Linked DNA regions of Homo sapiens: region 2 is linked to region 1. Evidence: promoter capture Hi-C in 16 types of primary human blood cells and fetal thymus (Javierre and others, 2016). All regions are on one chromosome and are shown on one strand. The core of a region is centred on a gene start or on the middle of the fragment in contact, and the rest is flanking DNA. Distances in the headings are between cores, read along the strand shown.

Evidence for each region. The method cuts DNA at HindIII sites, captures the fragments that hold promoters and counts their contacts. A CHiCAGO score of 5 or more calls a contact.
Region 2: a fragment that was not itself captured here is called in contact with the fragment with the promoter of PSTPIP2 in region 1 in 1 of 17 cell types (M1 macrophages); the score reaches 5.4 in M1 macrophages.

Annotation. Positions count from the first base shown.
Region 1 is chr18:46,069,931-46,075,406 of GRCh38, reverse strand. PSTPIP2 (proline-serine-threonine phosphatase interacting protein 2) reads left to right here and starts at 3,147. Exons shown (of 15, transcript NM_024430.4): 1 at 3,147-3,251. The coding sequence starts at 3,219. RefSeq lists silencers at 2,852-3,011, 3,142-3,191, 3,232-3,611 and enhancers at 2,741-3,242, 4,462-4,521, 4,562-4,661. The HindIII fragment of the contact is 16,135 bases long and covers 1-5,476 here.
Region 2 is chr18:45,995,062-46,000,537 of GRCh38, reverse strand. PSTPIP2 (proline-serine-threonine phosphatase interacting protein 2) reads left to right here. Exons shown (of 15, transcript NM_024430.4): 7 at 1,004-1,102; 8 at 1,699-1,744; 9 at 2,710-2,789. Among named protein-coding and RNA genes, the nearest start is that of EPG5, 30 kb to the right of the region's middle. The HindIII fragment of the contact is 1,783 bases long and covers 2,228-4,010 here.

The sequences.
Region 1 (5,476 bases), core at 1,898-4,397:
ATTTTGAGATGGAGTCTCACTCTGTCGCCCAGGCTAGAGTGCAGTGGTGCAAACTCAGCTCACTGTAACCTCCACCTCCCAGGCTCAAGCGATTCTCCTGGCTCAGCCTCCCGAGTAGGTGGGATTACAGGTGCTGCGCCACCTCCGCACGGCTAATTTTTGTATTTTTAGTAGAGACGGGGTTTCACCATGTTGACCAGGCTGGTCTCGAACTCCTGACCTCAAGTGATCTGCCTGCCTCAGCCTCCCAAAGTGCTGGGATTACAGATGTGAGCCACCCTGCCCAGCCCTTCACAGAGATTTTCAATTTTTATGTGCAAAATTGTCTGCTTATAAAGTGGCTAGCCCTGTATTCTATCAAACTTTTTGTTAGAAAAAATACATTGAGTGATTTTAGAAAATACTTATGAAATACTAAGTTAAAAAAGCAAGACTCAAAATTTTATGTACAGTAAGAACTTACTCTTGCAAATATATAGTTGAAAGAGAGTATGCCAAAATATTCACAGCGATTATCTTAAATGTATTATGTCTTAAATATATTAAATAATTTCATTATTTCATAATTGCTATAATATTGTTTAATTTTGTTAGTGTCTTAGTATGTTTTCTGTTGCTTATAACAGAGTATCTGACATCGGGTAGTTTATAAAGGAAAAGAATTTATTTCTCACAGTTATGAAGGCTGAAAAGTCCAAGGTTGAGGGGCCGCATTTGTGCCAGCCTTCTTGCTGGTAGGGACTCTGTGGCATGGGGTGTAACATGGCAAGGAGGTTGATCATGCTAGTTCAGGCCTCTCTTCCTCTTCTTCTTCTTTTTTTTTTTTTTTCTGAGATGGTGTCTCACTCTGTCTCGCCCAGGCTGGAGTGCAGTAGCACTCTCGGCTCACTGCAGCCTATGCCTCCTGGGTTCAAGCGATTCTCCTGTCTCACCCTCCCAAGTAGCTGGGACTACAGGCGTGTGCCGCCACACCCGGCTAATTTTGTATTTTTAATAGAGATGGGGTTACATCATGTTGGCCTGCCTGGTCTTGAACTCTTGACCTCAGGTGATCCACCTGCCTTGTCCTCCCAAAGTGCTGGGATTACAGGCATGAGCCACTGTGCCCAGCCATCTCTTCCTCTTCTTATAAAGCATAAAGCCACCAGTTTCATCTCCTGATAACCCATTAATCTACTAACCCATTAATCCATGAATGGGACTAGTGGCCCTCGTGACCCAATCACCTCTTAAAGATCCTACCTCTCTCAATACTGTCTCATTTCAGATTAAGTTTCAACAAGAATTCTTGGAGGGGGCAACATTCAAACCACAGAAGTTAGTAAAATATCCTAAATATGTCCCTTGGATATAGCACACACTTTGTTTGTTTTTTTACTCACAATACCTGCCCCAGAGATGAGCTGTTTGAGGAATGAAGAATATTTTCCAGCAGCGTGGATGACCATTTGCAATTAAAAACTTTGTCACCAGATGGCGGAAGAGGGTTAAAATTCAGGGAGCTTAGAGTCTGAGTCGCGAAAATCAAGCACAATGTACTGTGAGAGCTTGTGAAACGTTCTAATAACTTAAAATTATACATGTATTAAAAATTAAAATGTGACAATTAGAATTGTATCTAAACTATTTTTCCAGAATATTTAAAACTTCCAGGAAAAACCTTAGTGGTGTCTTCAGCTCTCCCGCTTCTATGTCCCCAGTTTGTGCCATTTCTTACCCCCTGCAGTTAAGCCTAGCTTCCTAGTGCCTACCACGTCCTCTGCTGCCCCTTGATGGTTCTGCCAGGCTTCTCTGCCTTCCTTCTAATCTCACTGCTTTCAAAGGATATGAGCAAGTACGTAAATGGATGCATCCCTTGGAGATGCTTGGTGGCTGGAGGCCACCTCTCCATCTTTGCAGTTGTGGATGACTTTATTGGTGGGAGTTCATCTGAGTGGGGCTGGCTGCAGTTTTATGGAGCAGAACTTGTTCCAGGTGCTTCACATAATTCTAGCAATTGCCCTTTCACTGTGTCTGGGTGTAGCTAGAACCTGCTCCAGGGGTGAGTGCTTGCTTCTCCAGGCTGGGCTGGTGCCAGTCTTGGCAACCTTGACCTTTATCCTCCCCACTTTGAGCACCTATTCCTCTGCCCAGGATGGATCTGCCCCAGGAAGGATGTCTGTCTTTGCATCTATTTAGAAGGGCAGAGCTCTAACCTTGAGCTCTTCATCCCTTAAATAAACTGTGATCTTGGGCAAGCCATTCAACCCCTCTGGGCCTCAGGTTGGGCTTCGGGCCTGTCGCACCAGGCAGTACTTTGTCATAAGCCCTGCATTACTATTAAAAGTCATGGCAAAAACCGCAATTACTTTTGTACCAATCTACTACAATGCAGAGAGGGGTCTGACCTGCCCTGGGGTTTTATTTGTGAGGGTGGAAGAGTGGAGGGAGAAGAAGGAATCTTGGGCCCCTCTTGCTGGGGTGGAATGGGCAGGGAAGGGTCTTGCCTTTTGAGAATGGAAAGGGAGTCAGAGAGCGGCTGAGCTCCTGGAAGCCCTGTTAGGACACCACCAAGTGACTAGAGTCAAGGGGAAACAGCAGAGATGACCTCTCCATGACATTTTAGACTAAAACGTGACCCCATTCATTAAAAACACCTGCAACAACAAAAAGTAAAATAAAAAATGAACCGTCCCCCAGGGCCTGATCTGCAGCAGGTGCCGGTGGGGCCCGCCGTGAAGCCAAGGCGTCTGCGGGAGTTGTCGGCCCCAGGCCTTCTGTAGCTTAAACCGGGTCCTCGCGACCATCTGATCAGATCCCGTCTATCACCCCGCAGAGCCTGGATTTCGTGCTGTCCAGGGGGCCTTGTGGGCAGGAACCCAAGCCAGGACCAGTTATTTCCAATACCCAAAGACTTCCAGAAGGAGGCAGCTAGCTTCGGGCTGATATATTGATCGTGGCCCGACGCTGTGGGGCTTTAAATGGGCCTGGGTCCGGGTGCGGGCTGCAGCCCCTGGCCGGGTGAGCGCCGAGGGTCCCGCCCAGGTCTCGCGCAGGGAGCGCAGAGCGCCGACGGCGGCCGTCGCAATCGGGAGTGGTTTAGGACCCGGGGGCGGCTTCCCTGCGCGAGTGTGGAACGCAGAAGTTGAGTCTGCGGAGCCGCGGGCAGTGGCAGTCAGGCCTCCCCGCTCTGTGCTACCTGCGGCCCGGCTCTCCTCCGCGCCCCCACTCGCGCTGCGATGACGCGCTCACTGTTCAAGGGAAACTTTTGGGTAAGTCGTGGGGCCGACAGCGGATCGCGGGGCTCAGGACCCGGCCCGGGCGGGAGGCCAACGCGGCGGGCGTGGGGGGCTCCCCAGCTCCGGCGCCACTCGGTGACCGCGCGCCCGGGGGCTTGGCGGAGCTCGCGCGTGAAGGGATCGGGGCCCCAGCCCCACTGCTCGAGGGGCAGACTTGGAGCGGACGCCGGGCTGCTGTTCCCTCTCTGTCCCCCGCTACCCACCGCGTGCCCGCGAGTCCCGGGGGCTCGGACTCCAGGGCCCACCCTCTGCCGCCCGCGCCCCCAGCAGCGCGTGCTCCTGAGGACGCAGAGAGCCGAGACACCTTAGAGTCAGGACATCAACCCCTCCTCTCACAGGCGAAGCAGAGACCCTTAGGGAGGCGAGACCCGTCCGGGGAGAGTCTCTGCCGGTCCCTGGAGCTGAGCCGTGAGAGGATCTGGGGGGATCTGGTGTGGGGGCTTGTGAGCTTTACCGGGTTGACAGCAGCAGCTGCCCCCCGGGATCGTCCTTTCCAGGAAACGTACAGCATAGAGGGCTTCCCTTTGCTGGAGCTTTCCCTGTTCTACAGCCTTGTTTCCCGAGCCCCCTCCCCAGGCCATTGCCCCAGCCCTTCCGTCCAGGCCCCATAGCGGGGCTGATGGTGTGGGAGACCCTATAAGCTGGAGGGGGTACCCCACCCAGCCCGGTAGGGCCAGCCCAGCCTGGAGGGAGCAGGTCTGCCTGTCCCCCTCCTCTGTCTAGTCCTCTTCCCTCTGTCCTCTCACTCCCCAGGTGCCCCTCAAGGTCCATGCCCCCTCATTCAGAGGAGCTGTCCTCATCCCTTTAAGACAGGAGCAGGAGGCTGCAAACCTCAAAGTTGACCGCAGCTGCCAAGGGGCCCTGACTCCTTACTGGGGCTCCTGCTTGCCTCCCCCCACCACCCACCCAGGTAGCTTCACAGCTGCCTAGATGGTCCCTCTACCCCACGTGGGCTGCAGGGTAGAGAAACCTGGCTGGGGACCTCAGGGACACAGTTGAGACTGTGCCTGTGAGTCCCTTCACTGGAGTTTGTGAGGTCCTTCTGGGGCACTACTCACCCTAGGGTGCAGGGTGGTGGCAGCCTCACAGAGGAACCAAGGGCACCACAGATGGCTCTCACGGGAGGCTTGCGAGTTTTTCAGGTAGAATGGAGGACTGGGGGATCCCATGGCAGGCACTGTGGGAAAAAGGCTCTGTATAATACAAACTGGAGAATGAGATGTGGGCCCCAGAAATAAGGAAGTCAGCAGAGGAACTGGTTCGTGGAGACATAAGGAGAAGGAGGCAGACGTGATACTAACAGTATTTAGTTCAGGCACAGTGGCTCATGCCTGTGATCCCAGCACGTTGGGAGGCCGAGGTAGGAGGATTGCTTGAGGCCAGGAGTTCGAGACCACCCTGGGCAACATAGTGAGACTCTGTCTGTCTCTACAAAAAAATCTTAAAAATTAGCTGGGCATGGTGGTGCATGCCTGTAGATATAGTTACTTGGGAGGCTGAGGCAAGAGGATTGCTTGAGGCCAGGAGTTTGAGGTTGCAGTGAGCTATGATCACATCACTGCACTCCAGCCTGGACGACAGAGTGATTTGTGTTTGTCTCAAAAACGAACAAACAAACAAACCCAACCAAACAACACAATCCTCAGTATTTAGCCACAGTTTTAGCACTGGCAAGGCTAAGGCCAGGCGGGCGCTAAGCCCCTCCCCACCAGCCTCCACCCCTCAGCCCCATGCCAGGGATGCTGGATACGGGGAGGTCTTAGCGGAGAGGGTGACAGGGTGAAGACAGGGTTCCAGGCCACAGAGTTTGCAGTATTTTAATATCTTCACAGCCAGTACAAACATGTCAGTGAGTACTCTCTAATGTCTGGTGGGTGACATGCAGGGTTTGAGGGGCTGGTGGAGATGGCCCCGCCCCTTGGGAAGATGTCCAGTTTTGAGAGCTTACCGAACAGCATGAAGCCTCTGAGGTGGGCTGCCCGGGCTTGAATCCAGTTCTGCCCCTTACTAGCTAGGTGACCCTGGGCAGCCTGCTTCCGCCCCCAAGCCTCAGTTTTTCCATACATAAAAATGGGGATAATAACAGTGTCTACTCCTTAGGACCGTTGGGAGGATTAAACTTGAGAGTTTAGTACAGTGCCTGACACACAGAGAGCACCTATAGTTGCCAGCTATTATTATCAGCAGTAGAGGTGACA
Region 2 (5,476 bases), core at 1,870-4,369, 75 kb after region 1:
AAATCAGCGGGGCATGATGTTTGCTTGCCTGTAGTCCCAGCTACTAGGGAGACTGAGGCAGGAGAATCGCTTGAACCCAGGAGTCAGAGGCTGCAGTGAGCCGAGATTGCACTACTGCACTCCTGCTTGTGTGACAAAGCTAGACTCTGTCTCAATAAATAAATAAATAAGGAACATGACTATCTTTAAGCAAAATAAATGATGGCATTGGTAACCTGCCGGCTGTTCACATGCTGTGGTGAATATTGAGGCCTCGTTAGAATTAGAGTGAGTTGGTGCCAAATAACCAAGTGTTTGTACAGGCATTCTTAGGATTATGAATGTTTCATAAATTTTAGACCACACGTTTTAGAGTTACGTAACTATTTTAATTGTTGTTGTTGTTGTTATTGTTATTTTGAGACAGGGTCTCACCCTTTCGCCCAGGCTGGAGTGCAGTGGCATGATCATAGCTCACTGCAGCCTTGAACTCCTGGGCACAAGCGACCCTCCCAGCTCAGCCTCCCAAGTAGCTGGGACCACAGGTGTGTGCCACCATGCCTAGCTAAGTTTTGTGTTTTTTGTAGAGATGGGGTTTCATTCATTTTGCCCAGGCTTGTCTTGAACTTCTGGGCTCAAGCAATCCACCCACTTAAGCCTCTCAGAGTGTTGGGATTACAGGCGTGAGCCATGGTGCCTGGCCTTAATTTTGTCTATTTCAAATTCCATCTTTCGTTTCAGTCCATTTTTAAAGCTCATGTACTTTATGTTGCCAAATAGGAGCTATTACTTCCTTGATCAGGTTGCCACTATTACATAATTTGAAAAAGGGCTAGAGAGAGAGAGTGAGCTTTCAAAGACTGATAAGAAAAAGCATCTGCCCTCTGGGAGCCCATGGCTTAGTGACAATCAGAGCACTAATCAGACGGCCCTGTCCATGCTGGACTTCCTGGGCCAAGGGGGCTGCATTTCATGGTTACACTCTGTTCATTTGTTTTGGTTCTCTTTGTTCATAATGACAAAGGCAAAGAAGAACTATGAGCAGAAATGCCGGGACAAAGATGAGGCAGAACAGGCCGTCAGCCGGAGTGCCAACCTGGTGAACCCGAAGCAACAAGAAAAGGTACCCAGGAGGGCTAACAACCCGAAAAATCTGAGACTGACCTATGTCAGGCTAAAGCCAATTATGAATCTTCATAAGAAATGAACCTGTATCCTAAACCCCTGGAAATATCTTCCTTCATGTATTGGGGGTCTTCTGAACCTGAAAAACCACTGCCACATATTTGGGGGTTAGGGGAAGAGCGACAGAAGCATGGCTATGAGGGAGGGAGATGGGGTGATAAGAGGTTGGAGGGATTTCCCAGTTGTTGTCATTTTTCTTAAAGACTCAGTTCATGTATTCTTTGTAGTCAGGCTGCCTTTTGCTTGGGTGGATTACAAATTTAACTTTGTAAAATCTAGATACAAGATTTCTGCAACCAGAGGGCTGGGTGTGTCTTTAGGAAGACACTGGGCAAGATGCTTTATGGATATTTTCCAAGATTGATAAGATTGCAGGGCACGTTGAATGATTTGCTCATGAGGGAAATGTACACAGGACTTGCACTAGACCTGGTCTCTTCATAGTTACTGCTTTTCAATCTGTTTTGCCTGTGGAAGCCTCGTCCAGCATTCCCAATGCTTGCTCTTTTTTTGTTTGTTTGTTTGTTTTCACAGCTTTTTGTGAAACTGGCAACTTCAAAGACCGCAGTAGAGGACTCAGGTGAGGGGGCAGTTCCTACGGATGGGGGAGGGTTGCTGGTGGGGTTTACGTTATCCTAAATGTGTCCCTGAGAAAGGGAGTTTTATATACCTTAAAGAGAGAATATATGGATATTCAGCAGGATTAGTGAGATATCTGAAGGGAAAAAGGGAGGAAGGAAGGGAGAGAGTAAGGAAGGGAGGGAGGAAAGGAAAGAAGAGGAGAGAGGAAGGGAGGGTATATTAGAACCCCGGAAGGTGGGAGGAGGCTATGAGGCCACTGTTTCTGGCTTCTGTCTGCTTAGATCTTGCTGCCTTACATGGGAGTGAGATGGTGGAGTCATGTGGTAGCGGCTTTGCAATCAGGTGCTTCCTCTGATGTATTGGGGCATCTATCTAAAAGACCATTTCAGCCCCGGTAGCTCTTATCTGCTGTGAAACAGCCAAGCTGCAAGGCCTTGTTATCACTGAAATCTAAGACCCAAACCAGGCATTTGCAAAAGCTTCTAATTCCCAGAATATCCTGCAGGAAATATCCCTCATGACTGTGGTGGTTATGTACATCTTAATCTCTACATTTGAAACTAAAGTAACTTGGTGCCCCTTTAGGGCTCAAGGTAGTTCTCTTCTCTGCATCCTTCATCAGACAATTTTGAAAATGAAAAGCGATGGGAAATACTGAGGTGGAATTACACAAACAAAACCCTGGCTGAGGTTTCTTATCAGCTTTCACTTCTTCCTTAGAACCTTTCTTTCTCAATGTTAGGTCCAATGTTTAAAAAGAAAGTGATACCCTCCTTTGCCTACTTCACCAAATATGATGAGGGTGAGAGATGCAATAACTCCCAGTGCTCAGAGTCCTGGGGGCCTTGTAAGCTCAGCACAACTCGGATGAGTTTCTTTTGCCATCTGAGACCAGCCTGTGGGTGTATCTGCGAGCCACCTTCCTGTCTAGTTTCTGACCCAGGTCTCTCCCTTCTGTTGCAGACAAAGCATACATGCTGCACATCGGCACCCTGGATAAGGTCCGAGAAGAGTGGCAGAGTGAGCACATCAAGGCCTGCGAGGTACCCGTAACCGGAAGCTGCTCAGGACTGGGGTGGGTGGGTGGGGGTGTGTGTAACAGGAAGCTGCTCAGGACGGGGGGGGGAGGGGAGGAGGGGGAGGGGAGGGAGGGAAGGGGGAGTGGGGCCGGGGGTTGGGGGAGGACGAGGGGGCGGGAGGTGGGTCTTCTGCCCAGAACCTGGAGAGTCTACTTTTGTAGAAATGATCTGCCCGGATTCTCATAGGGTTACAGAGCTTGAGGGCAAATTAGAAATCAGAAATTTGGCCAGGCACGGTGGCCCATGCCTGTAATCCCAGCACTTTGGGAGGCCGAGGTGGGTGGATCACCTGAGGTCAGGAGTTCAAGACCATCTGGCCAACATGGTGAAACCCTGTCTCTACTAAAAATACAAAAATTAGCCGGGTGTGGTGGCGCACACCTGTAATCCCAGCTATTCTAGAGGCTGAGGCAGGAGTATAGCTTGAACCTGGGAGGCGGAAGTTGCAGTGAGCCAAGATAGTGCCATTGCACTCCAGCCTGGGCGACAGAACAAGACTCCGTCTCCAAGAAAACAAACAAACAAAAAAAGAAATCAGAAATTTAAGTGAAGAATGGAAGGAACTGGAATAGTTTTCCCCAAACCTTGTCTGCCTCATCCCCATCCTGACCATGCTGTCCAACAGTTCAAATTTTAGTCTAATGTTGGGTTAGCACAAGCATAGAATAGCTGAATCAGTTAATGGTCGATTAAGTAATTATCTTTGGAGAGCCCGGCCTCAATAGGCTCTAAAGGGAATGCCAACAGCAAGTGAGTAGGCTTTGGAGATTTGTTTGTTTGCTTTTTGTTTTGAGTCTGGGTCTCACTCTGTCGCCCAGGCTGGAGTGCAGTGGCATGATCAGAGCTCACTGCAGCCTGAAACCCCATGAGCTCAAGTGAAGTAGATGGGACTACAGGCGTGCACCACCACGCCTTGTTAATTATTTATTATTTATTTTATTTTTAAAGAGACAGGGACTTGCTCTGTTGCCCAGGCTGGTCTTGAGCTCCTGGGTCTCAAGCAATCCTTCCACCTTTGCCTCCTGAGTTGCCAGGGTTACAGGCATGAGCCACCATGCCTGGCTGGAGGGTTTTCTTTTTTTTTTTTACTCTCCTCATACCTTCAATTTCACCACTGCTCCCTTTCTTTTGCAGCAAATGACCTCACAATTTCCAAGAGAAAATAAAAAACATAACTTGGAAGCTTGCTTAAGTTTCTGTCATCCTGCCTACACATTTTCTTCCAGTGGTTCTCAAAGTGAGGTCCTAGGACTGGTAGCATCAGCATCACCTGGGAACTTGTTAGAAATGCAGGTTCTCAGACCAACCTCAGACCTACCGAATCAGAAACTCTGGGGGTAAAGCCCAGCAATCTCTGTGCTAATAAGCCTTCCAAGTGATTTTGATGGGAATTCAAGTATAAGAATCATTGACAGACACGCCTGCCCCACTCCTTTTTTCCTGTTAGCACAGAAAAGGGGCTGTTCCTTCCTTGTTCAAGATCTTTTTTCATCCAGCTTGCCTTTCCCCACCTTCTTGGGCATGGAGAACTTGTCAACTTCTGTTATCTTGCACACAGACTCAACTCTCTCCTAGCTTTAAAACCCACCAGTTCAGCCAGGCATGGTGGCTGCTAATGCCTGTAATCCCAGCACTTTGGGAGGCCAAGGCAGGCAGATCACCTGAGGTCAGGAGTTCAAGACCAGTCTGGACAACATAGTGAAACCCAGTCTCTACTAAAAATACAAAAATTAGCTGGATGTGGTGGCAAGCACCTGTAATCCCAGCTACTTGGGAGGCTGAGGTGGGAAAATCACTTGAGCCCGGGAGGTGGAGGTTTCAGTGAGCTGAGATCATGCCACTACACTCTAGCCTGGGCAACAGAGTTAGACTCCATCTCAAAAAAACCCAAAAAGCAAAAAACAAAACCAGCAGTTCTTACTTTCTATCTACGACCCCTACTACCCCCGCCCTTCTTCACAGCCACGCTTTTTGAAGGGGCTGTCTCCAAGTCCATGTTGTCCTGACTGCCCCAGCCTGCAGCATCTGGGATTTGCTTCCCTGCAGCTGCTGTCTTGGAGGGCACCAGAATCCCTTGGCATGAGGGCCAGTGGGCCTTTGCAGTTTCTAATCTTATTTGATCTCTCTTTGCCATCTGATACTGTAGGTTATTATGCTTCTCCTAAAACACTGTTTTCTGCTTTACTTCTGTAACTCCACACTCTTAGGGGAAAGCCTAGAATGAGGCCATTTTTTAATAAGGTTTAAAAACATGTAAAGCAATATCATGTACATATACAGATACATATATAGTGTAAAAACCTGCATAAAGGCCAGGTGCGGTGGCTCACACCTATAATCCCAGCACTTTCAGAGGCTGATGCGGGTGGATTGCTTGAGCCCAGGAGTTCAAGACCAGCCTGGGCAACACAGCGAAATTTTGTCTCTACAAAGAAATATAAAAATTAGCCGGGCATGGTGGTAGAGGCTACTTGGGAACCTGAGGCGGGAGAATTGCTTGAGCCCACGAGTTTGAGGCTGCAGTGAGCCATGAGCGCACCACTGCTCTCCAGCCTGGGTGACAAAGTGAGACCCTGTCTCAAAACAAAACAAAATAAAACCCCCCAAAACCAAACAACGAAACAACCCCTTCCCCATAAAAAACAAAACAA